4 separate regions of the Homo sapiens genome follow, and all the other regions are linked to region 1. The links are contacts of gene promoters, found by promoter capture Hi-C in human tissues and cell types (Jung and others, 2019). All regions are on one chromosome and are shown on one strand. Each heading gives the region's core, a stretch centred on a gene start or on the middle of the fragment in contact. The rest is flanking DNA. Distances are from core to core; before and after follow the strand shown. Region 1 holds the start of FAM177A1 (family with sequence similarity 177 member A1). Region 2 overlaps SNX6 (sorting nexin 6). Region 3 has its middle 28 kb from the start of NFKBIA. Region 4 has its middle 43 kb from the start of PSMA6.

Region 1 (5,815 bases), core at 3,316-5,815:
TCCTCAGTGACCCAAAAGAGGTGGGAATTGTTATTGGATATCATCATTGGCCCACGCTTTCTGACCTTGGGAAATCAATTAAGGGGTTCATAATCTCAATTCTGTCAGAATTGGTACAAGAAATAGCTGCATGTTTCTTGACATTCCACTTGGTAGGAAATAAGAATGTGAAACTCTTCAGTTGGTGTGTGTCCCTTGTTTTTTTGCAATTTCCTTCTTACTGTGTTAAAAAAAAGTATGATCTTGCTCTGAGAGGTGAGGCATTCTTAATCATGATCTTTAAAGATCAATAATATAATCCTTTCAAGGATTATGTCTTTATTATAATAAAGATAATTTGTCTTTAACAGAATCAATAATATAATCCCTTAAAGGATTATATCTTTGCTGGGCGCAGTGGCTCACACCTGTAATCCCAGCACTTTGGGTGGCCAAGGTGGAAGGATCACCAGGTCAGGAGTTCGAGACCAGTCTGGCCAACATAGTGAAACCCCATCTCTATTAAAAGTACAAAAAATAAGCTGGGTGTGGTGGTGTGCGCCTGTAATCCCAGCTACTCGGGAAGCTGAGGCAGGAGAATCACGTGAAGCCGGGAGGTGGAGGTTGCATTGAGCCAAGATCGTGCCATTGCACTCCAGCTCAGGTGACAGTGCAAGACTCTGTCTAAAAAAAAAAAGGATTATATCTTTATATTTGTTATAGATTCTTATCAGAAGACACTCAGGGTTCTACAGATTTTAGATGAAGATGCACAGCTCTCCAACATTAAAATTACTGAGTCTAGCATAGTGTGCAAAGAAAGCTAGTTATTTTATGCCTAATACCATACAGAAAATTCTAGGCCGGGCATGGTGGCTCACACCCGTAATTCCAGCACTTTGGAAGGCTGAGGCGGGTGGATCACTTGAGGCCAGGAGTTTGAGACCAGCCTGGCCAACATAGTGAAACCCCTTTCTGGGAAAATACAAAAATTAGCTGGGTGTGGTGATGTGTGCCTGTAGTCCCAGCTTGGGACCCGAGGTGGGAGGATGACTTGAGCCTAGGAGATCGAGGCTGCAGTAAACCAAGAGCACGCCACTGCAATCCAGCCTGGCTGACAGAGTGAGACTGTCTCAAAAAAAAAAAAAAGAAAATTTTGGTGATTGGATATCACTGGTATATTCTCACCACACACACACACACACACACAGACACACACACACACAAAATGACCAAATTTTAATTAACAAAACAAAACCTTACATAACATCAAATCTAAAAATTCACTTGGTATTTTCATCTGCTTCTTACATATAGAGCTTTAAAGCTTACTAAAAGACTTTTAAAAAGAAACATACTTTACTCATTTCCATCCCAATCTTTCCAAACAACATACTCACCTTTGGTGTGGAAATTTCTTGCCTTGCTAACACTTACTGGCCTAGTATTTTTTGACATTTTCATTCTCAGTGGGGCGGAATGGCTAAGTGTGTAGGTGGTGGAATCAGAATGCCTGGGTTTTAATCCCAGCTCTGCTGCTTACCAGCTGCGTCACTGGAGCAAGTTGCTTAACTTCTCTTTGTTTCCTCATCTATAACATGTTGGTAGTTACAGTAATACTTCAGAATTGTTGTGAGGAATAAGAGTTAATACAAAGAAAGCAAAGTACCTGGCATATTGTGCTCCATAAGTGAAACCACTACCATGATTTTAATAACTTATTCAGCCTGGGCAACATGGCAAAACCTCATCTCTACAAAAAATATAAAAATTAGCCAGGTGTGATGGTACACGCCAGCTACTCAGGAGGCTGAGGTGGGAGGATCGTCTGAGTCTGCAGTGAGCCATAATTGTGCCACTGCACTCCAGCCTGGGTGATACAGTAAGGCCCTGTCTCAAAAAAAAAAAAAAAATTTCTTTATGCTTAGACTGAACCTAAAATGCATTTTTATTTTTATCATCTTTTTTTCTTGTGCATTATTTTTGATGAAAATATATTGTCCTGTTTGATGGATAACTTAAAAAATTCTCTATCAAAGTATATATATGTAGCTATGTTAAAACCCTAAGAATGTCTTGTTTATTTGATGAACATTCCTGGTTATCAAATTTTATTCAGATTTATTTTCCCAGCCTTACGCAGAAATGGTTCAATCCAAATTTACCTTTTTAGCTCTATATGTATCATTAAATGATAAATTTAGACCACATTATGTTTTCAAGTAGATAAATTATCATAATACTTGAATTTATTTTTGTCATAGTGCTACGATACAATTTATGTTACAAAGTGAAAGAAGGAAAAATTTGGCACATTGCCTTGGTGCCTACTTTTGGTTGAGCTATAACAGTTTGGAAATAATGACAAAAATATAAATGTCCAAAATAAAACCATTAGAATTTCTATGCTTTTATGTTGCTTTGAGTTGTTGATTTGTTTTGTTTTTGTTTTTTTGAGACGGAGTCTCGCTCTGTCGCCCAGGCTGGAGTGCAGTGGCGCGGTCTCGGCTCACTGCAAGCTCCGCCTCCCGGGTTCACGCCATTCTCCTGCCCCAGCCTCCCGAGTAGCTGGGACTACAGGCGCCCGCCACCACGCCCGGCTAATTTTTTGTATTTTATAGTAGAGACGGGGTTTCACCGTGTTAGCCAGGATGGTCTCGATCTCCTGACCTCGTGATCCACCCGCCTCCGCCTCCCAAAGTGCTGGGATTACAGGCGTGAGCCACCGTGCCCAGCCCGAGTTGTTGATTTGTAATAAACTGCTCTTCAATTGGATATTTGTGTTAAAAATAACTTTTTAGGAAATACTTCCAGTTCACGTTAGAATGTAACTTGTACTTTGAATTTTCAGTAAACTAAGAAATACACATGTAAACTGTGAAAATATATTCTGCTTCGGCAATGAAAATTGTAATTTGAGGCCAGGCGTGGTGGCTCACGCCTGTAATCCCAGCACTTTGGGAGGCTGAGGTGGGTGGATCATCTGAGGTCGGAAGTTCGATACTAGCCTGGCCAACATGGTGAAACCCCGTCTCTACTAACAATACAAAAATTAGCCGGGCGTGGTAGTGCACAACTGTAATCCCAGCTACTTGGCAGGCTGAGGTGGGGGAATCGCTTGAACCCGGGAGGCGGATGTTGCAGTGCGCCAAGATTGCGCCATTGCACTCCAGCGTGGGTGAGACCCCATCTCAAAAAAAAAAAAAAAGAAAAAAAAGAAAAAGAAAATTGTAATTTGATATTTAATTGCCACTTTGGAAAATAAAATCATGCATTTATAAATATCCCACAAAGTTTTAGTAATAAAGATTGTTGATTGCCCTGCTTGCCAGTAAGAAGGAAGAGATTTTGAATACATATAATGCAGAACTGTGTTGTTTATGAATGCCAATTCATGAAGTCTTAACAATTGGTTCTTTATTTTTGTTTTCAATTTATGGCCGAGTTTGGTTTTGCTGTTTTGGACTGTCTCAACTCCCTGCTGATGCCACCATACAGAGTCAGATCAGGTACTAACTTGTTTACTTCAGCAGCAACCTAACTTGATTTTATTACCAGGATAGAGAGCAATATGGATTTCCAACTAGTTTTTAAGGCGTAGATGGTTTTCAAATGATTATTTGTTTTTTAAAGTTTTTGGTTTTGTTTTTAGGTTCCAGTTATACATAGAATAGGAAGTGTACAATAACATTAGGCAGAGGGTAAGGAGAAGAACTTTGGCACAGAAGAGAAAGGAATATTTAATATTTGGGCCTGCTGTTGCTATGATGAAAAACATTTACAAGGTCATACAACTTTAGGGAGCATTTCTGAATTGAGACTAGTATGAAAATGGAATTTAAAGTATCAAATGAAGCCTCCCATAGCCAAAATAATGTATGTTTTGGTTTTGCCCCCTACATATTTGTGAAAACTTTCATGCTAAAACAACAATATACCATTTACCTGCAGAACCTCAGACTTGTTTGATGTTGAAGTCATGCAGTAATTGCATGATTTTTTACTTTCGTTGAACATTGCGAAAGACGGAAAAAATCTGGGACGCCCCCTCTAACATACGCACACGACTTTAAGACACAGATAAAACATTCCTTACATTTGTCAAGATGGAAGCTTACTACTGCCCTTTGCTCTCCTTCAGGTCTTTTCACTTAACACTTTCTACAGTTATACTTAAGTATTTCAGACAAGAGTAAGCAAATATCACGCCTGGGGTTCTTCTTTCGAGGGTATTTTGGCTGGACTGTCACCCACGTTTGGAATGGAAAGTGCAGCACGAGCCGTACATTTTACATTTTTCAGCAACCACATCCCATCACTAGCCTTTGAAGTACAACGACACAGCTGTCTTCATTTTACAAGTGCAAAAACCGAGGTCCTGCGGGGTGACTGCCCCAGACGCCGCTGGTGACGGGCTGCGCCGAGGTCGAGACGCCAGGCTTCAGGTACACGTACCAGAAATGACGTCACAGGCGGTGCCAGGCGGGGATCCACGAGCTCTGGATGCTTGCTTGGCCGGAAGCGACGCCCCGCAAGGACCCGCCCCGCCCCGCCCCGCCCCGCGCGAGCCGGTAGTTGCGCCTCCCAGACTGCAGTTGGCCAGCTCTCGGGGTGCGGAGCCCGGCGGGCTAGGCGAGGCGCGGGCTGGCCCCGCCCCTCAGGCCGGCGAGTCCCCTTCTCAGAGACTTGGCTAGGCGCGGCGCGAGGCGGGCGCTGGGCGGGTGAGTCCCACTTCCCGACAGCCTGGCTCGGCCAGCGACTGGGCGGGGAGACCAAGGATGGAAGTGGGCTTACCGGCCATTACCCTCTTTCTCACCAGCGCCAGCAGCCCTGTGGTGGCGACGACGATGGACCAGGAGCCAGTGGGCGGTGTGGAACGAGGAGAAGCCGTCGCAGCCTCGGGAGCTGCGGCCGCCGCGGCATTCGGGGAATCTGCAGGGCAGGTAGGTGGGGCCGCCGAGGCTGACGTCCGGGGAGCCGAGCCGCCTCCTTGCCTTCTCCGCGGGCCGCTCTTTTAGCCTGCGCGGCCGTCCTCCGAGCAGGCCGCCCCAGCTTTGGAGTTCCTCCTCACTGCACCCCTGTTTCTGCTCACTGAGACCAGCTTGTGGGAAGGAGCGCCCCCCGCCTCACTCACCAACCCCTTGGCTGGCAGCACAGCAGACTCTGGGGCGGCCTCGGGTTCCTGGGGTGATAGTCCAGCTTCTGGTCTACCAGAGGAAGAAGAAAGGCGTGTCCCCCAAAGGCTGTCCTTGCAGTAGCTGGAAGCCAGGTGAGGGCGGCTTCAACCACTTCTCAGTCTCTTCTGGTGCGAGCGCCTGCCTGGGCATCTGCCCTTTGCTTGGCATATGCCAAACGTTTACCAGCTTTAATTCACTGGATCCTTACAGTAACCGCTCGAGGTGGGTGTTAGCCCCATTTCACCGCCGAGGCAACTAAGGCTCCGAGCTGCGCTGTCCAACATAAATAGAATGCAAGCTGCATTGAAAATTGTAATTTAAAATTTTCCAGTAGGCACGTTTTAAAAAAGTGAAACCGATATTAATTTTAATAGCATATCTTATTTAACCTAATTTATCAAAACAATTTCAACCTAAAATTACTATGAAAGTTATTAATGAAGTATTTGCATTCTCTTTTGGAGTCTTTTCTAAGTCTTTTAAATCCTGGGTGCATTTTACACGCATAGCATATCGCAGTTCTGGCTGACCACATTTCAAGTGCGCATTAGCCACATGTGGCTAGTGGTTACTGTATTGGACAGCGCTGGTTTAGAGAGTTAACGTTTCTTGCAACTTTTCAGTATTAGACAAAAAGACACTTTGGGAGGCCAAGGCGG
Region 2 (5,815 bases), core at 1,220-3,719, 460 kb before region 1:
ATTGAGACTGAATCTCGCTTTCTTGCCCCAGCCGCAGTGCAGTAGCGCCATCTCACTGCAACCTCCACCTCCTGGGTTCAAACGATTCTCCTGCTTCAGCCTCCTAAGTAGCTGGCATTACAGGTGCTCACCAAGCCTGGCTAATTTTTGTATTTTTAGTAGAAATGGGGTTTCGCCATGTTGGCCAGGCTGGTCTCAAACTCCTGGCCTCAAGTGATCTGCCCACCTTGGCCTCCCAAAGTGCTGGGATTACAGGCATGAGTCACTGTGCCCAGCCAACAAAATTTATCTAGATTCATTGTAGCAAATAGGCTGAGGCAAGCAGCTCACTTGAGGCCAGGAGTTTGAGACTAGTCTGGGCAACACAGTGAAACCCTATCTCTACTAAAAATACAAAAAATTAGTGGGGCACGATGGTGCAATCCTGTAATTAAACTACCCTTTAATAGTCTGGTGTTTGGCTGGGTGCGGTGGCTCATGCCTGTAATCCCAGCACTTTGGGAGGCCGAGGTGGGAGGATCATGAGGTCAGGAGATCGAGACCATCCTGGGTAACATGGTGAAACACTGTCTCTACTAAAAATACAAAACAAAATTAGCCTGGCGTGGTGGCACGCGCCTGTAGTCCCAGCTACTTGGGAGGCTGAGGCAGGAGAATGGTGTGAACCCGGGAGGTGGAGCTTGCAGTGAGCCAAGACTGAGCCACTGCACTCCAGCCTGGGCAACAGAGCGAGACTCCGTCTCAAGAACAACTACAAAAAAAATAGTCTGGTGCTGGGATATTTTTTAGTTGGTATCAGCATTTGACAGATAAACTATTTAGTTAAAAGTGAAAATAAATTCTTAAGTAGAAATTGGTTATTCATTTTTTTCTTTTTTTTTTTTTTGAGATGGGCTATCATTCTGTCACCCCGTTCTGGCACAAACCTATGGTCCCAGCTACCCAGGAGGCTGAAGCAAGAGGATTGCTTGAGCACAGGAGTTCAAGGCTGCAGTGCTCTATGACTGCACCTGCGAATAGCTACTGTATGCCAGCCTGAGCCACACAGCAAGATCCACTCTCAAAAAACAAAAAAGGGCACAGGTTCAAGTATTCTGTAAAATATGTAATTAAAATGACATCATAAATGAATTAGGGCAAATACTACTCAAAGCAAAAACAATTTTACGAACTTTGCTTTCACTCAAAAGAACTTGCTTTGACAGATTTACGTTAGAGAACAGATGGCAAGGTTGACTTTTTTCCTTCTTCCTGATAAGAAGAATTAACTCTTTGGGAAGGTGGCTTTTTTTTTTTTTTAAGACGGAGTTTCTCTCTTGTTGCCAAGGCTAGAGTACAATGGCGCAATCTCGGCTCACTGCAACCTCTGCCTCCCAGGTTCAAGCGATTCTCCTGCCTCAGCCTCCTGAGTAGCTGGGATTACAGGCATGCGCCACCACGCCAGGCTAATTTTGTGTTTTTAGTAGAGATGGGGTTTCTCCATGTTGGTCAGGCTGGTCTCCAACTCCTGACCTCAGGTGATTCACCTGCCTTGGCCTCCCAAAGTGCTGGGATTACAGGTGTGAGCCACTGTGCCCGGCTGGTGGCATTTTAATTAGTGTAAGCTATCATACCTTGCTTTGCCAAAAAGCGTGACTTTTAAATATCTGAGACAGAATACACTAGAGAAAAGGTCAAGGATGTGGTTTAGAGAAAGGCATAGACTATGAAAATAGTTTTCCTGCTTAAAAATATGTTTAATTTTTAGTTTTTTTGAAACCAAGTCTTGCTCTGTCGCCCAGGCTGGGGTGCAGTGGTGTGATCTTGGCTCACTGCAATCTCTGCCTCCCAGGTTCAAGTGATTCTCACGCCTCAGCCTCTCAAGTAGCAGGGATTACAGGTGTACACCACCATGTCTAATTTTTGTGTTTTTAGAGAACACGCCACTGCACTCCAGCCTGGGTGACAGAGCAAGACACCGTCTTCCGGGGGGCGGGTGGCAGAATCAATTTCACCTTCAATGAAATACATAAACACATATACATACATACATACATATATATATATTCTAATTCCCAAATGGCAGTTCTTATTTATAAGCTTTATCAAAACTTAAGAACACTCTAACATAAATTCGGTTCTTCCACTCTCTTACACACAAATCAGCCCATTTTCATAAATAAAACACAGTTGGGGAGGAAGAAAAAAAAATATATATAGAGAGAGAGAGTAAAGTCGATTTTTATTTCTCAGATTTAAAAAATAGGACAGAAAGGGAGAAGAAAAAATATCAACCCAAGTTTTTTCTTTTTTCTTTTTTTTTCTGAGATGGAATTTTGCTCTTGTTGCCCAGGCTGGAGTGCAATGCTGTGATCTCGGCTCAACGCAACCTTCGTCTCCTGGGTTTAAGCGATTCTCCTGCCTCAGCCTCCCAAGTAGCTGGGATTACAGACACCTGCCACCACACTTGGCTAATTTTGTATTTTTAGTGGAGACAGGGTTTCTCCATGTTGGTCAGGCTGGTCTCAAACTCCCGACCTGAGGTGTTCTGCCCGCCTCGGCCTCTCAAAGTGCTGAGATTACTGGCGTGAGCCACCATGCCCAGCCCTCAACCCAAGTTTTTAAAGGAGGTCCTTATTATCAATGTGTTTTGACAAAAATATTCCAAAAGTTTTGTATTAGAAGTATTGTTGGCCGGGAGAAGTGGCTCACAGGCTGTAATCCCAGCACTTTGGGAGGCTGAGTCGGGCAGGCCACTTGAAGTCAAGGGCTTGAGACCAGCCTGGCCAATATGGTGAAACCCCATCTCTACTAAAAATACAAGAATTAGCCAGGCATGGTGGCAGGCACCTGTAATCCCAGCTACTTTGGAAGCTGAGGTGGGAGAACTGCTTGAACGTGGAAGGAGAATGTTGCAGAGAGCCATGATCGTGCCACTGCACTCCAGCCTGGGTGACAGAATAAGACCCTGTTTCAAAACAAAAACTAAAACAAAAACCAAAAGTATTGTGTGCATCCAGGCTGCCAATAGAAAATTTTCTCTGCTTTATTTATATTTCATATATATTTTTTGAGATAGTCTTGCTCTGTCACCAGGCTGGAGTGCAGCAGCATGATCTTGGCTCACTGCAACCTCCGCCTCCCGGGTTCAAGTGATTCTTGTGCCTCAGCCTCCCGAGTAGCTAGCTGGGATTACAGGCACACACCACCGACACCTGGGTAATTTTTGTATTTTTTGGTAGAGATAGGGTTTAGCAATGTTGGCCAGGTTGGTCTTGAACTCCGGACCTCAGGTTTTCCACCTCCCAAAGTGCTGGGATTACAGGCATGAGCCACTGTGCCCAGCTATATTTCATGTTTTATTTATTTATTTTTTTTGAGATGGAGTCTCACTCTGTTGCCCAGGCTGGAGTGCAAAGGTGGAATCTCAGCTCACTGCAACCTCTGCCTCCCAGGTTCAAACAATCCCTGCCTCAGCCTCCTGAGTAGCTGGGATTACAGGTGTGTGTCACCCCGCCTGGCTAATTTTTGTATTTTTAGTAGAGACGGGGTTTCACCGTGTTGGTCAGGCTGGTCTTGAACTCCTGACCTCTTAATCCACCCACCTTCGCCTCCCAAAGTGCTGGGATTACAGGCGTGAGCCACCGCGCCCAGCCTATTTCACGTTTTAAATTAGAACACTTACTTGCATATATCTGTAGAATCCTGAGTTCCTAAAGCATATAATGAAGAACCAATTCTATTGTAATCATCTGCAGCACCTATGGAGAAAGTTTTAAGAATTTAGTATACCTATTCATAGATTTAAAAATACTTACTGAGCAATTACCTCTCAAACAATGTGTAATATGAGACACTCTAGTAAAGAAAATAACGCAAGCAACAGGCATGGTGGCTCATGCCTGTAATCCCAACACTTTGGGAGGCTGGGGCAGGCAGATCACCTGAGGTCAGGAGTTTTGAGACCAGCTGGGCCAACATGGTGAAATCCCATCTCTATCAAAAATAAAAAAATCAGCCAGGTGTGGTTGCACATGCCTGTAATCCCAGCTACTCGGGAGGCTGAGGCAGGAGAATCATCTGAACCCAGGACACAGAGGTTGCAGTGAGCCAAGATCACGCCACCGCACTCCAGCCTGGGTGACAGAGCAAGACTCCGTCTCAAACAAAAAAACAAATTGGAGGTCGGGCGCAGTAGCTCATGCCTGTAATCCCAGCACTTTGGGAGGCCGTGGCAGGTGGATCATGAGGTCAGGAGATTAGGATCATCCTGGCTAACACGGTAAAACCCCGTCTCTACTAAAAATACAAAATATTAGCCGGGCATGGTAGTGGGCACCTGTAGTCCCAGCTACTGGAAAGGCTGAGGCAGGAGAATGGCGTGAACCCGGGAGGCGGAGGTTGCAGTGAGCCGAGATCACACCACTGCACTCCAGCCTGGGCAACAGAGCAAGACTCTGTCTCAAAAAAAAAAAAAAAAAAAAAAAAACAACTGGAAAATAAGAAGTATAACTTTCTTCATTAATAGACGTGACATGATCATCTATGTAAAAATCCTAAGGAATCTACAAAATAATTACTAGAACTAATAAGTGAGTTTATTTAGCAAGGTTGCAGGATATAAGATCAATATTGAAAAAAATATGCTGTGTTTCTATGTATTAGCAAAGAACAATTTGAAATTGAAATTTTAAAAAACATAACATGGCCGGGCACGGTGGCTCATGCCTGTAATCCCAGCACTTTGGGAGGCCAAGGCGGGCAGATCATGAGGTTAGGAGATTGAGACCATCCTGGCTAACACGGTGAAACCCCATCTCTACTAAAAATACAAAAGAATTAGCCGAGTGTGGTGGCAGGCACCTGTAGTCCTAGCTACTCGGGAAGCTGTGGCAGGAGAATGGCGTGAACCCGGGAGGTGGAGGTTGCAGTGAGCCAAGATCGTGCCACTGCACTCCAGCCTGGGCGACAGAGCAAGACTCCATCTCAAAAAAAAAAAAAAAAAAAAAAAAAAAAGGGCATCTAAGATTTTGGAGACAAAAATCCTGGGCGATAGAGCTAGACTCCATCTCAAAACAAACAAACAAACAAAATTTATTTATTTGGAGACAGGGTCTCACTCTGTTGCTCAGGCATGAGCACGGTGGCATGATCACGGCTCACTGCAGTCTCAAGCTCCTGGGCTCAAGTGATTCTCCCACCTCAGCCTCCCAAGTAGCTGGGACCACAGGCACATGCCACCACGGTTGGCTAATTTTTTTTTTTTTTTTTTTTTGGCGGGGGAGGGATAAGGCCTGACTCTGCCACCCAGGCTGGAGTGCAGTGGTGGGGTCTTGGCTCACTGCAACCTCCACCACCCGGGTTCAAGTGATTCTCGTGCCTCAGCCTCTCAAGTAGCTGGGACTACAGGGGCATGCCACCATGCCCAGCTAATTTTTGTATTTTTAGTAGAGATGGGGTTTCTTTTTTTTTTTTCTTTTTGAGACAGAGTCTCACTCTGTCACCCAGGCTGGAGTGCAGTGGCACAATCTCAGCTCACTGCAAGCTCTGCATCCCAGGTTCACATCATTCTCCTGCCTCAGCCTCTTGAGTAGCTGGGATTACAGGCGCCCGCCACCACGCCCAGCTAATTTTTTGTATTTTTAGTAGAGACAGGGTTTCACCGTGCTAGCCAGGATGGTATCGATCTCTTGACCTTGTGATCGGCCCGCCTTAGCTTCCCAAAGTGCTGGGATTACAGGTGTGAGTCACTGCGCCCAGCCAGAGATGTGGTTTCATCATGTGGGCGAGGCTGACCTCGAACTCCTGACTTAATGTGATCCCCTTGCCTCAGCAT
Region 3 (5,815 bases), core at 1,687-4,186, 390 kb after region 1:
CATCCTGACAAAAATGAAGATGATGCTGACAGAGCACAAAAGGCTTTTGAAACTGTGGACAAAGCTTACAAGTTGCTACTGATCAGGAGCAAAAGAAGAGGGTCCTGGATGTAATTTAGGCAGGAAAAGAATACGTGGAACACACTGTGAAAGAGAGAAAAAAAAAAAACAATCAAAGAAGGAAGGAAAACCTACGATTGTAGAGGAGGATGATCCTGAGCTGTTCAAACAAGCTGTATATAAACAGAAAATGAAACTCTTTGCTCAGCTGGAAATTAAAAGGAAAGAGAGAGAAGCCAAAGAGATGCATGAAAGGAAACGGCAAAGGGAAGAAGAGATTGAAGCTCAAGAAAAAGCCAAACGAGAAAGAGAGTGGCAGAAAAACTTTGAGGAAGGTCGAGATGGTCGTGTGGACAGCTGGCGAAACTTCCAAGTCAATACAAAGGGGAAGAAAGAGAAGAAAAATCGGACCTTCCTGAGACCACCGAAAGTAAAAATGGAGCAGCATGAGTGACCACCCGGGGTCACAGGCACAGAACCTTCCCCCTGCTATCTCCCTTCCTGCTTCGAAGGACTCATTCTTTCCTCCCACTTCCACCTCAACATAGAGTAGTATTTGCTTTTTAGTCTGTTTCGTTTTGAATACAATTTAATATCGATCAGAGTAATTCTTTTGTACAATGAAATGAGGGGACTGGTTTAAAAAAAGACCTTCCTCCTCCCTGCCCCTAGAACAACCAGGATTGGAAGGTGGCACCATTGGTGCTGCCTTCTCTTCCCACAGCCTGTAACTCAGTGTTTTGTACTTCACTGAATTGTGATGGTTAGAAACTTCGTCCTAGTTTGTGGAAATCATCCAATTAAACATATTACTTAAAATGGTGTTGCTGTGACGTCAGAGACAGGCCTGGAAGGGGCACTTTGGAAGCCCCTTGGCTTCAGTTGCTCGCTTCTGGGTGTGCTCCCTTAGAAGGCCCAGATAAGACAGGGAACACCTGTGGGCACACAGAACAGGCACCTGATGCCCTGATGCCCTGTGGTGTTTGGCATGTGCCCCCTGTCTACTGACCAATCAGCATGGCATGAGGCCCACGCCACCCAAACCTTTCACTTTCCAAAGAGCTAGCCGTCCTCCTCCCAGTACCATGGTGTCCTAGCCTGTCTGCATTTGTTAGTAGTAATATTCTTTATGTATAATAAATTTTTATAACTACCCCCCCAAAAAAGTGGTAACTATTGTCATAGAGAAGCTTTGCTTTTTGTTGTTTTTTAATAATTTCAGCTTTTATTTTAGATTCAGGGAGTACACGTGCAGGTTTGTTACATGCGTACATTGCTTGATGTTGAGATGTGGAATACAAATGATCTTGTCACCCCGGATAGTGAGTATAGTACCCAGTAGGTAGTTTTTTAATTCTTGCTCCATTCCCCCCTCGCCGCTCTAGTAGTCCCCATATCTATTGTTTCCATCTTCATTTCCATGAGTTCCTAATGTTTAACTCCCACTTATAAGTGAGAACATGCCATATTTGGTTTTCTGTTCCTGCGTTAATTTGGAGAAGCTTTACATTTTTTTTTTTTTTGAGATGGAGTCTCGCTCTGTCACCAGGCTGGAGTGCAGGGGCTTGATCTTGGCTCACTGCTACCTCCACCTCCAGGGTTCAAGCGATTCTCCTGACTCAGCCTCCCAAGTAGCTGGGACTACAGGTGCATGCCACCATGTCTGGCTAATTTTTGTATTTTTAGTAGAGGCAGGGTTTCACCATGTTGGCCAGGATGGTCTAGACGTCTTGACCTCATGATCTACGCGCCTCGGCCTCCCAAAGTGCTGGGATTACTGGCGTGAGCCACCACGCCTGGCCGAAGCTTTACATTTTAATATAGTTTAATTTAATACGTGTGTTTGTTTTATGCTTTTCATCTTGTTTGTGTCCAGATGTCATAGAGAATCTTCTAATCTTCTAAATTGTCTTCTAATTACTTTAAATTTTCATTTTTCCCAATTAGGTGTTTAAACATTTAAAAATTAATCCAAGTATAGTAGTGCTTTTTTCTGACCCAGCTTGCTAAAGGGACAGGGCTCCTGACAACTTTAAAGAATCTGGATGGTCTACTAAAAGATAAATTCAAATAGTGTCATTTTAGGCACAGATTTGTTGTTGGGGGCGCGGTGTGAGAGTGGTGATGGGTAATATGTGCATGGTAACAACAACAATAAAAAATTTCAAGCCTCTTGCCATGTGGCCTGTTGTCCCAGCTACTTGGTGGGGGGTGGGGGGGGTGCTGAGGCAGGAGGATTGCTTAAGGCCAGGAGTTTGAGCCCTTGAATAACCACTGCATTCGGCCTGGGCAACATAATGAGACCCTTTCTCTTAAATCAAAACAATCAAACATCCAACAGGTTTACAATAATGAAAAACAAATTTATTTTAAGATTAATAGGGGAGAAGTTAGCACTGTGTTTTCTACAGTTTTTTAATTTATAGTGTTGGGGATTTTGTGACTTTTTGATTGACTGATTGAGACAGGCTTTGTCACCCAGACTGGAGTGCAGTGGCTCAATCATGGCTCAATGCAGACTTAACCTCACTTTTTGTAGAAACTGGGTTTCACTATGTTACCCAGGCTGGTCTTGAACTGCTGGCCTCAAGTGACCCACTCGCCTTGGCCTCCCAAAGTGCTGGAATTACAGGCGTGAGCTACTGAACCTGGCCCCTTGTGACCTTCTCTATTTTAGTGCATCATAGATGCCATTACATGTGGGTCCCATTCAACACGCAGGCTATGAAAACTGCACTATTTGAAAGTACATTGCTTGCAGATATGGGATTCTTAGTACAAATTCCAAGAAAATAGGGCTTGGGGGGTAATTTGTAGTTTACTGGGAAAGAGCCTTCCAATATTTTCAGCGGATCCCAGAAGATTCCCCATTCTAATCTTGTGGCTGGAACAATGCCGAGCACATAGTAAGTGCTTTATAAGTGTTGATTCACTGATTGATTATAGAAGGTGCTGAACTACCCAAACTTTTGACTTTGACATCTACCTAGAAGTGCTTGTCCTGCAGAGGAAAGCTGAGATCCTGGTATTAACGTATACTATAGAGCAATGATTTATCAAGTCTGCCCACCTGCTATTTTGAGTATTTAAAAATTGCAACAAACATGGTGCTTTGGAATGATTTATTAATGTACAATTTGTACATTAATATTGTTAGGCATGGATTTTAGTTCAACATACTTTGCATTAAGTTCAGTTCAAAGAGTATTTTTGTGAAATTACTGTGTGCTTCACTAACCTCTGAGGGCACAATGATGAGGGCACAATCTCTGCTTTAACTTAATCAGGATGATGCTCCCTCTCTGTATTATAAATATGGAAAACAAGGCCTATCTAATCTTAGTCCATATTTGTCTGGCAAAATTCTTACCTTATATTAAAAAAAACCACACAAAGTCTTTAATCGTATGTCTAAGCCCAAAACAATATTCCCAGTAGGCCTTATGGAATTGGGTAAAGGATTCAACAATAAGGGAAGCAATGTTTCAGAGGGCAGAAGTGAGATGCATGTTGGTTTATGGAACATGAAGGAAATAGTAGGAAGCCGTTATTAATCTAACTACACCATTCCCCATACAAAGCCTGGAAGGAGTCTCCCTGACTAGGAAGTGGTGTCGCGGGGCTCCCCTATCTACAGTTAAATGTGCTTGTGAAGGGTGTCTGTTGCCTTCTTTCTTCTCTAGTATGCACCAGCACCCTTCCACCCACCACTCAATTCTCCTTGTACTTTGGTTTTGCTTTGCCTGGCTCAATTCAGGGCTTTGCAATATAATGTCTAGAGGTTTAGTATTGTCACTGTAGAATCAAATGAGCCTGGAGGTTATTTGGTTTTAATTATCATTCACTGAAACAATCAATGTAGAGGATTTAGTCATTCAAATGGTTACCGGAGGGACATTTAGGTAATTGCAACTGTTGAATGTTCTCTCTTCTGCTAATTGTTTTTATTGAATGAGATTTATATCTAGGTATTAAAGAGAAGTTGTAGCTGTGAGTATCACAGGCCAACATTTTGGAAGGAAGTGGTGGGAAGGAGATCTGGGCCCTAAGCTTGGCCCTGCTTTTCATTTTTTTTTTTTTCATTTTTATTTTTTTGATACGAAGTCTCACTCTGTCGCTGGAGTGCAGTGGTGCGATCTTGACTCACTGCAACCTCTGCCTCCCGGGTTCAAGTGATTCTCCTGCCTCAGCCTCCCGAGTAGCTGGAATTACAGGTGCCCACCGGCATACCTGGCTAATTTTTTTTTTTTTTTTTTAATTTTTAGTAGAGATGGGGTTTTATCATGTTGGCCAGGCTGGTCTCAAACTCCCAACTTCAAGTGATCCGCTCGCCTCGGCCTCCCAAAGTGCTGAAATTACAGGCGTGAGCCACCGCACCCGGCCTTCACTCTTTTATAAATGCCTCACTTCTAGGTTTTCAAAATGTCATGTAAGTATACAGTCTAGTGTCTGTCATCACAAACATGTACATTTGGTCATGTCACTGTGCTTAGTTGCCATAACAGACACTTTTAAGATTATATAAAATAATATGCACTGCCCTAAATGGAATTTTCTGAGTGTAGTATTTTGATTGGGTTTTCAATTTCTTATGTAAGCACCTAAGGTTACCATTCTATTTAGTGCTCTTCAGGATGAAAAATATTTTGTCTTCCCACCTAGTTTCAGTGAATGAGGCCTGCAAATTTAACTGACTAAAGACAGATTAACAGGAAAAAAATGTATGATTTTTATTGATATTAATACTTTTAAATGCATGGAAGCTTCACAGAGATGATGTGAAAACTCAAAGACGTGCTCAGAACTTGAATTTTTTTTTTTGAGATAGTGTTTCACTCTGTCGCTCAGGCTGGAGCGCAGTGGCATAATCTCTGACTGCCAGGTTCAAGTGATTCTCCTGTCTCCATCTCCTGAGTAGATGGGACTACAGGCATGTGCCACCATGCCCCACTAATTTTTGAAATCCACCCGCCTCAGCCTCCCAAAGTGCTGGGATTACAGGTGTGAGCCACTGCACCTGGCCAGAACCTGGAGTTTGTATACCCTTCTTAAAAAAAGAAGATGGGTTTGGGCTTCAAGGGAAAATATTGTGGGAATTGACTAGGAAATATATGAAGGAAACTAATGGGAGATAAGGGTTATTTTAGTAGGGCTTGTTTATGAGGAGTCATCTTGGTGTGACATCTCTGGTAATGAGTCATTCTCAGTTTCCTGGCATAGAGGAGTACCTTCCTCAAAGGAAAATTTATGTCCTGTTTTTAGGCAGATAAAGGGAGGGCAGAGACCTTTTCCTCCATCAGTTGCCTTCAGCTCAAAATAATCCTTATGCCAAAGTGGCATATTTTGGGATGGCATATCCTGATCTCTTTCAGTAGCATCTCCCCATTTTTAGAAAGAAAGAAATGGAAGTATAGTAAGATTAGAGGATTTGGCTCTATTCACATGGCAAATTAGTGGCTTAGCTGGAACCAGAATCCCAATCTTCTGATCATGAGTCTTATAATTACTTTTATTATCTGAAGGTCAGGACCCAGCAGATGCTTTGGTTGGCAACAGAAGCATCAGGGTACACAGACTTTAGTAACCAATTCCTCCTAGACAAATGAGTGTTTACATTTTCAGTCTCAATGAAGGTTAAATTTTAGCATCTAACTACGTTGAAGAAGCGTTTGTACATGTTCTCCTTTTTCTTTATTAAGGAAATGTACACACACACAAAACCTTTACAATCCCATGATTCTGAAATAATGCAATT
Region 4 (5,815 bases), core at 1,341-3,840, 290 kb after region 1:
CCTGGCTGCCACTTTTTCTAGGAACTTATACAAGTCCTCATCAAGAGGGAGGGCAAAAAATTGTCGGTGAAGATGGCTGTGCTGGCATTTTGTAAGTGACAGTGGTCAAGCTCTAAGTTGTGGATGGACACGGCAGGGGGCAAAATCACCTCCTCTAAAAAACGGCCTAGCGATCCTAATGGATTGGCCGTAGAGACCCATCATTGCAGGGAGACCTGGGAAGGCCACCTGCTTCCCTGTGCCTCTGTGTCCTCAGCCACCTGAGAAAGTGTACTTCAAGAGGGAACCCAGGGAAGAAGGCTGTACAGGGTCCATGTTATTGCACCATCTCCTGTCAATTTAGGAGACATTTTCTTAATACTTCTTATTGATCAACGAATATTTTTGAGCCCCTCCTGTAAGTCAGACCCTGCTCCGGGGCACAGGGTGATGACCAAGACGGACTAAGTCTCCCCAGGGGCTAAGAATTTAGGCCCTTGCAGAGTATCTCCTCCAAGTTATTGAGCTGCCACTGAGATATCTGTGGCCACTTTGCATCCTGTCTGCATCCAGCAGGGTGGCAGTCCAGGCCTTTACAGAAGCAGACTGGGCATGAAGACATTTCTTGTGAAAAACCAGCTTCCAGGCCTCCTTCCTGGGAGGGACTCTGTGAGTGCCACGCCCAGGGCCCTGCAGCAGGTCGTGAGCAGATGCCTCTAATGATTCAAAGCTACCAACAATACTGTAAGAGGCCCCTTTCCTGCCAAAGACTACGTGGAGATCCCTTCTGGGTTTTTCTTTTTCTTTTTCTTTCTCTGTGAAGTGTACTTAAAAAAACAAAAGGTCATTGTAAAACAGGGTATTATGCTGTTTCTTCTAAAGCAGGAGGGGCTGCAGGTGCTCACAGCTGATTTCTCATTTCTGAAAAACCCTAGTTCCAGGCCTACCTTGAAGGGAGGGGCTCCTGGGAGGGAGATAAATAGTCGTATGAGGCCCTGTCCAGACACTGACACACCAGACAATCCAGCAACACTGCGGGTCGGAGGACCCTGCTGAACAGGTCGTAGCCAACAGCTCCAGGTGGCTGCATCCTAGCACCAAAGCCAGGAGACAAGAGCCCTGACTACAGGGGTGCGGAAAGGGGCACTCGCAGCCCCAGGCTTCCAGCCGCCAGAATCAAGTGCTGGGACTTCCAGCTTCCCCACAGTCAGAGCCTGACTGAATTCTCAGTCCACAGCTGAGTTATTTACAGCCTCAGTTTTTCTCTTCTGAAAAAAAGGGGTATAAACCACAGGATCCATCTCAAAGAAGTGCTATGAGGAAAAAATGACACAATGCATTTAAAGTGCAGAGAAGACACCAGCTACGCTGTGGCAGCAGAGTATGGCAGCGCCCTTCCAGAACGGCTCTCTAGTGCTGTTAAGTTTCCCCAGCATCCTGACCAGTCACTACCAAAATGTGATTTCCTGCGAACATTGTCACCCAAGCAGTGTGGTCAGGCAGGCAGAAGCCAGCCTGAAGTTTACAAATGTCTCTCTTCAGCCAGGGCAGAGCAGGTGAGGCCCTGCGTCACCCGCGCAAGGCTTGTGGTTCAGCCAGGGAGACAACGTCCTACTTCTTTCAGGGTGACCATGTTCTTCCTGGGCGCTCATTTCCTCGTGACACCCATAGGCGGCAGCTTTTCCCTATGGGGGTCCCTGGCCTTTAGGGCAAGTCCTGCCCTGTCTAGAGCCTTCTCCTCCTGGAGGAGCACACACGATGGCACCAAGCTGCTCTGACCCTGCCAGGAGCCAAAACAGCCTCTGGGAGCTCCAAGGGGCGCCCCGGGCTCAGGGTCATCTCCCACACCTTCCCTTCCCATCCCGAGGCCTGCAGAGCCCTCAAGGGCTCAGTGGCCCTGGCTCAGCTGGACCCCAGCACAGACAGGGAGGCCTCTGACCTGCACCCAGAGCCTGCCTCCCAGGGCTTCCTCACCCCAGTGTCCTAGGAGGGGGTGGCACAGATGGAGAGAGGCCAGAGGCTGCCACTCAGGAGTATGTGAGTCAAGGCTTGCTTGGGAGGTAGGGGCAGAGGTGGAGATGCCCAGGGGGCCAGGAGAAAGGGGAGGAGAGATTGGGAAATGAAGCCCTTCTGGGGCTGCCAGCTCCCCTCTACAGCTTTAGGCCATGCCAGGGGGCCCTGAAGTGAGTCAGCCCCTACAGAAAGCCCAGGCTTTCTGTAGAAAAGAGTTTCGCTTTTTTTTTTTTTGAGACAGAGTCTTGCTCTGTCACCCAGGCTGGAGTGCAGTGGCACGATCTCGGCTCACTGCAAGCTCCGCCTCCCGGGTTCACACCATTCTCCTGCCTCAGCCTCCTGAGTAACTGGGACTACAGGCGCCCGCCACCACGCCCGGCTAATTTTTTTGTATTTTTAGTAGAGACACAGGGTTTCACCGTGTTAGCCAGGATGGCCTCGATCTCCTGACCTCGTGATCCACCTGCCTTGGCCTCCCAAAGTGCTGGGATTACAGGTGTGAGCCACCACACCTGGCCAGAGTTTTGCTCTTGCCCAGACTGGCCAGGCTGGAGTGCAGTGGCGCCATCTCGGCTCACTACAACCTCTGCCTCCCGGGTTCAAGCAATTCTCCTGCCTTGGCCTCCTGAGTAGCTGGGACTACAGGCACGCGCCAGCACACCCAGCTAAGTTTTGTATTTTTTTTAGTAGAGATGGGGTTTCACCATGTTGGCCAGGATGGTCTCAATCTCTTGACCTCGTGATCTGCCCGCCTCAGCCTCCCAAAGTGCTAGGATTACAAGCGTGAGCCACCCGGCCCACTATTCCAGTTATTTTAAGATGTACATAAATTATTATGTTATCATACACTAGATTTTATTGAATCTACCATTTCACATTCTTATTGAGAGTGTAACCTCTTGAAGCCTACTGGTGCAGGAGGGATTTTGCAACCTTCCTTTGGCTTTTGTCACCTATGGAAAACTACAAACCAGCTTGCCTATCCGGTGATTGGAACCAGGAGGATTGCCGGCCTTGGGTCTGGAAATCCTATCCCATGTGTCTTCCTTCCTCCCTCCCTCCCTTCCTTGGTTCCTTCCTTCCCCTGACTAGGCCCCAGAGGGGTGGGGAGGCCTTCCTGGGCCTGGCATCAGGGCTCCTGGGCTCCCAGCCAAGTGTCCAGAGGTCACTCCTCCTGGCATCTGGATCCTTCTTATCTTCCTGAGACATAGGAGGCTCCTGCTCTGGAGATGACTGAAGGGAAAACACCTGTATTTCCAGGGCCTTGGAAATAGCCTGCTCCAGCCGGCCTTCCCGGGAGAAACTGAGAAAGGACATTGGTCCGAAGCATTTCTCTTTCGGTTTGTGCTGCGCTGAGCCTGTCCTGTGATGCGGCCCTCACCAACCAAGGACTGAACGAGAGGGACTCCATGCGAACCTGCTCAGCATACAGCAGGTGCCTCGTGGATATTCTTCCCTAAGGCTCCAGGCCAGCCAAGCACTGCATTAACCAGGTTCGGATGAACTTTAGAATGTACGCATCTGAGCTGTCATAGTTTTTTGTTTTCTTGTTTTTTTGAGATGGAGTTTCGCTCTTTCACCCAGGCTGGAGTGAAATGCCGCGATCTCAGCTCACTGCAACCTCTGCCTCCTGGGTTCAAGCCATTCTCCTGCCTCAGCCTCCCAAGTATCTGCGATTACAGGCTCCTGCCACCATGTCCAGCTAATTTTTTGTATTTTTAGTAGAGACAGGGTTTCACCATGTTGGCCAGGCTGGTCTTGAATTCCTGACCTCAGGTGATCCACCCACCTCGGCCTCCCAAAATGCTGGGATTACAGGCATGAACCACTCTACCTGACCCATAGTTCTTAAATTTAAAATCTTGATATGCTGGTGGATATGCAGCTTGATTTCTTTAAGCCGACATGGCCTGACTTTTTCAGATTCTCAGCCTGTGTTGGAGGGCTGTTGAGTGTTCTTTCTATGCAGAAAGTACGCCTGCCGTCCTCTGTTTTGTAATCGCCACCCCATCCCTGCCCAACACACACACCCACACAGCCGCAGTTACGCCGGGTCCAGCAACGCACGAACCAAGTGGAAGGTCAAGGGCTGGGGCTCCGTTTCCCTCCCCTTGAAGCTGTTTGGTTTGCTCTTGTCCCAGCCCCTGACTGAGCCGCCAGCCCAGAACGGGGGCAGCCCTCCCCCATGCAGTCAGGGCCAGAGGAGCATAATATTGCCCCCCCGGGTGCAGCCTTAGGTGCAGGAGCGTTGGGAATTTTCCATCTTGCTCTGCAGCCTGGCTTCTTAGGTCATCGTCCTGCTGCTGACATAGGCCTGGGTTGGGCGAGTTTCCTGCAGGTCAGCGAGGGCGCGGAGGCAGCGCCTGAGCCTGCTCAGGGCCTGGCTTCCTGCCTGCTGTGAGGAAGGGTGGAGGAGGGGTTCGAGGCCTCAACCATCCCTTGGCCCAGAGCCTCAGGCCAAGCAGCCTCCGCCTCTGCCCAGGCCTGTCTCCTCCCGGCCTCCTGCTCTCCTGTTTCCTAAAGCTTTCCCGCTGGGTGGCTCCCAGTTCTTCCAGAAATCCCCTCCAGGAAATTTGCTTGTTGCCACAAAATAATGCAAATCTGTTCCTGGGGCCGCCCAGGCAACCTGCAGTCTCTGTCTCCCCAAGACCTGAGGAGGGAGGGCGAGGCAGGCCCTGTGCCCGTCAGGGTCCCTTTTCCAGCCATGAGGACAAAGGATAAGCCGCACCCTCGTCACCCTCTCATAAGCTGCAAGAGAAAGTTCCTGGTTTTACCTCTAAGGGAACCAGCTCCACCTAGGGAAAGGCCACACAGGACCCTCAAAGGCACCAAGGTCTTTTTTCTATTTAATATCTAAAACAGTCTGAATATATTAAAGTTTATGCTCATGTTTGGCATTTGTTTATCTGTTTCTCGAACTTCAACTCCCTGCCGTGTCTGGAGCAGAAAGTGAAGGCCCATGGATAACACTTCTGCGTGCCACAGTCCTAGGTGGTGACCAATGCAGGGATGCACAGGTGCCGTGTGGCCTTCTGCAGGCCAGGCCCCACAGAGACCCACAGTCAAGGTGGCCTGAGACCCTTGAACAAGGAGCTTGTGGCCAGAGAAAGGCTAAATGCAGCACCCCCACCCCTGTGGCTAGTGCCAGGGCCCCACCTGAATGCTCTGCAGTTGGGTCCCCCCAGGCCATCTCCAGAGGAGAACGCAAGTGGGCTAGGGAGGGAACAGACCAGCCTGATGCAAAACCCTCTCAGCCCAGCACAGCCCTCGTGTCCCTGGGCTGAGGGTCTGGGGAGAACATCACTTGCTCTTGCCTCCCTTCCTTTCTTGCTGCTGCTGCCTCCTGAGGTCAGGCCGTGACTACTCAGGAGAGGAATGGAATTCCAGGGCTCCTGCTCCTAATGAAGGAGAGGTGGGAGGGGCACACACCAAGCTGCTACCAGGTACCAGGCCCTCGGAGGTGCTTGAACACTACCTCCTTGACTCTCAATAGCAATCCTATGAGGTGGATGTTTTCTTGCCCAACAGATGGGATTCTGAGACTCAGAGATATTGGTGACTTGCCCGAGGTCACACCAATGGTAGGTGGTGATTCAAAACCAGGTCTGTGTGCAGTTCAATGACCATGGAGTCTTGCCCTGTTGCACAGGGCTTCTTGTGTCATACACAGCCTTCGCTTTGTGAAATCCAGCACAGTTGACCCACATTCTCACCCAAATCCAAACTCCAAGTTTCAGAGCTTCTTTGCACCCATAAAAGGGGGGCTCAGAAGTCCCCTTGAGGCCTCAGAAAGGACATAGACCAAACAAAGGTTATGGCCTAA

Evidence for each region. Contacts are between HindIII fragments. The study calls those that stand out against the background at their distance.
Region 2: a fragment that was not itself captured here is called in contact with the fragment with the promoter of FAM177A1 in region 1 in 1 of the 25 tissues and cell types used here (lymphoblastoid cells).
Region 3: a contact is called between a fragment that was not itself captured here and the fragment with the promoter of FAM177A1 in region 1, in 1 of the 25 tissues and cell types used here (lymphoblastoid cells).
Region 4: a fragment that was not itself captured here is called in contact with the fragment with the promoter of FAM177A1 in region 1 in 1 of the 25 tissues and cell types used here (heart right ventricle).

The regions. Positions count from the first base shown.
Region 1 is chr14:35,041,707-35,047,521 of GRCh38, forward strand. It overlaps FAM177A1 (family with sequence similarity 177 member A1), which reads left to right and starts at 4,566. Exons shown (of 5, transcript NM_173607.5): 1 at 4,566-4,922. The coding sequence starts at 4,758. RefSeq lists enhancers at 4,086-4,285, 5,006-5,275, 5,376-5,435 and a silencer at 4,406-4,755. The HindIII fragment of the contact is 5,057 bases long and covers 58-5,114 here.
Region 2 is chr14:34,582,566-34,588,380 of GRCh38, forward strand. It overlaps SNX6 (sorting nexin 6), which reads right to left. Exons shown (of 14, transcript NM_152233.4): 9 at 3,665-3,740. Among named protein-coding and RNA genes, the nearest start is that of SNX6, 45 kb to the right of the region's middle. The HindIII fragment of the contact is 6,294 bases long and covers 1-5,616 here.
Region 3 is chr14:35,430,118-35,435,932 of GRCh38, forward strand. It overlaps the pseudogene DNAJC8P1. Among named protein-coding and RNA genes, the nearest start is that of NFKBIA, 28 kb to the left of the region's middle. The HindIII fragment of the contact is 3,060 bases long and covers 1,407-4,466 here.
Region 4 is chr14:35,332,533-35,338,347 of GRCh38, forward strand. No RefSeq gene overlaps it. Among named protein-coding and RNA genes, the nearest start is that of PSMA6, 43 kb to the left of the region's middle. RefSeq lists enhancers at 1-512, 523-1,132, 4,017-4,538. The HindIII fragment of the contact is 5,959 bases long and covers 1-5,570 here.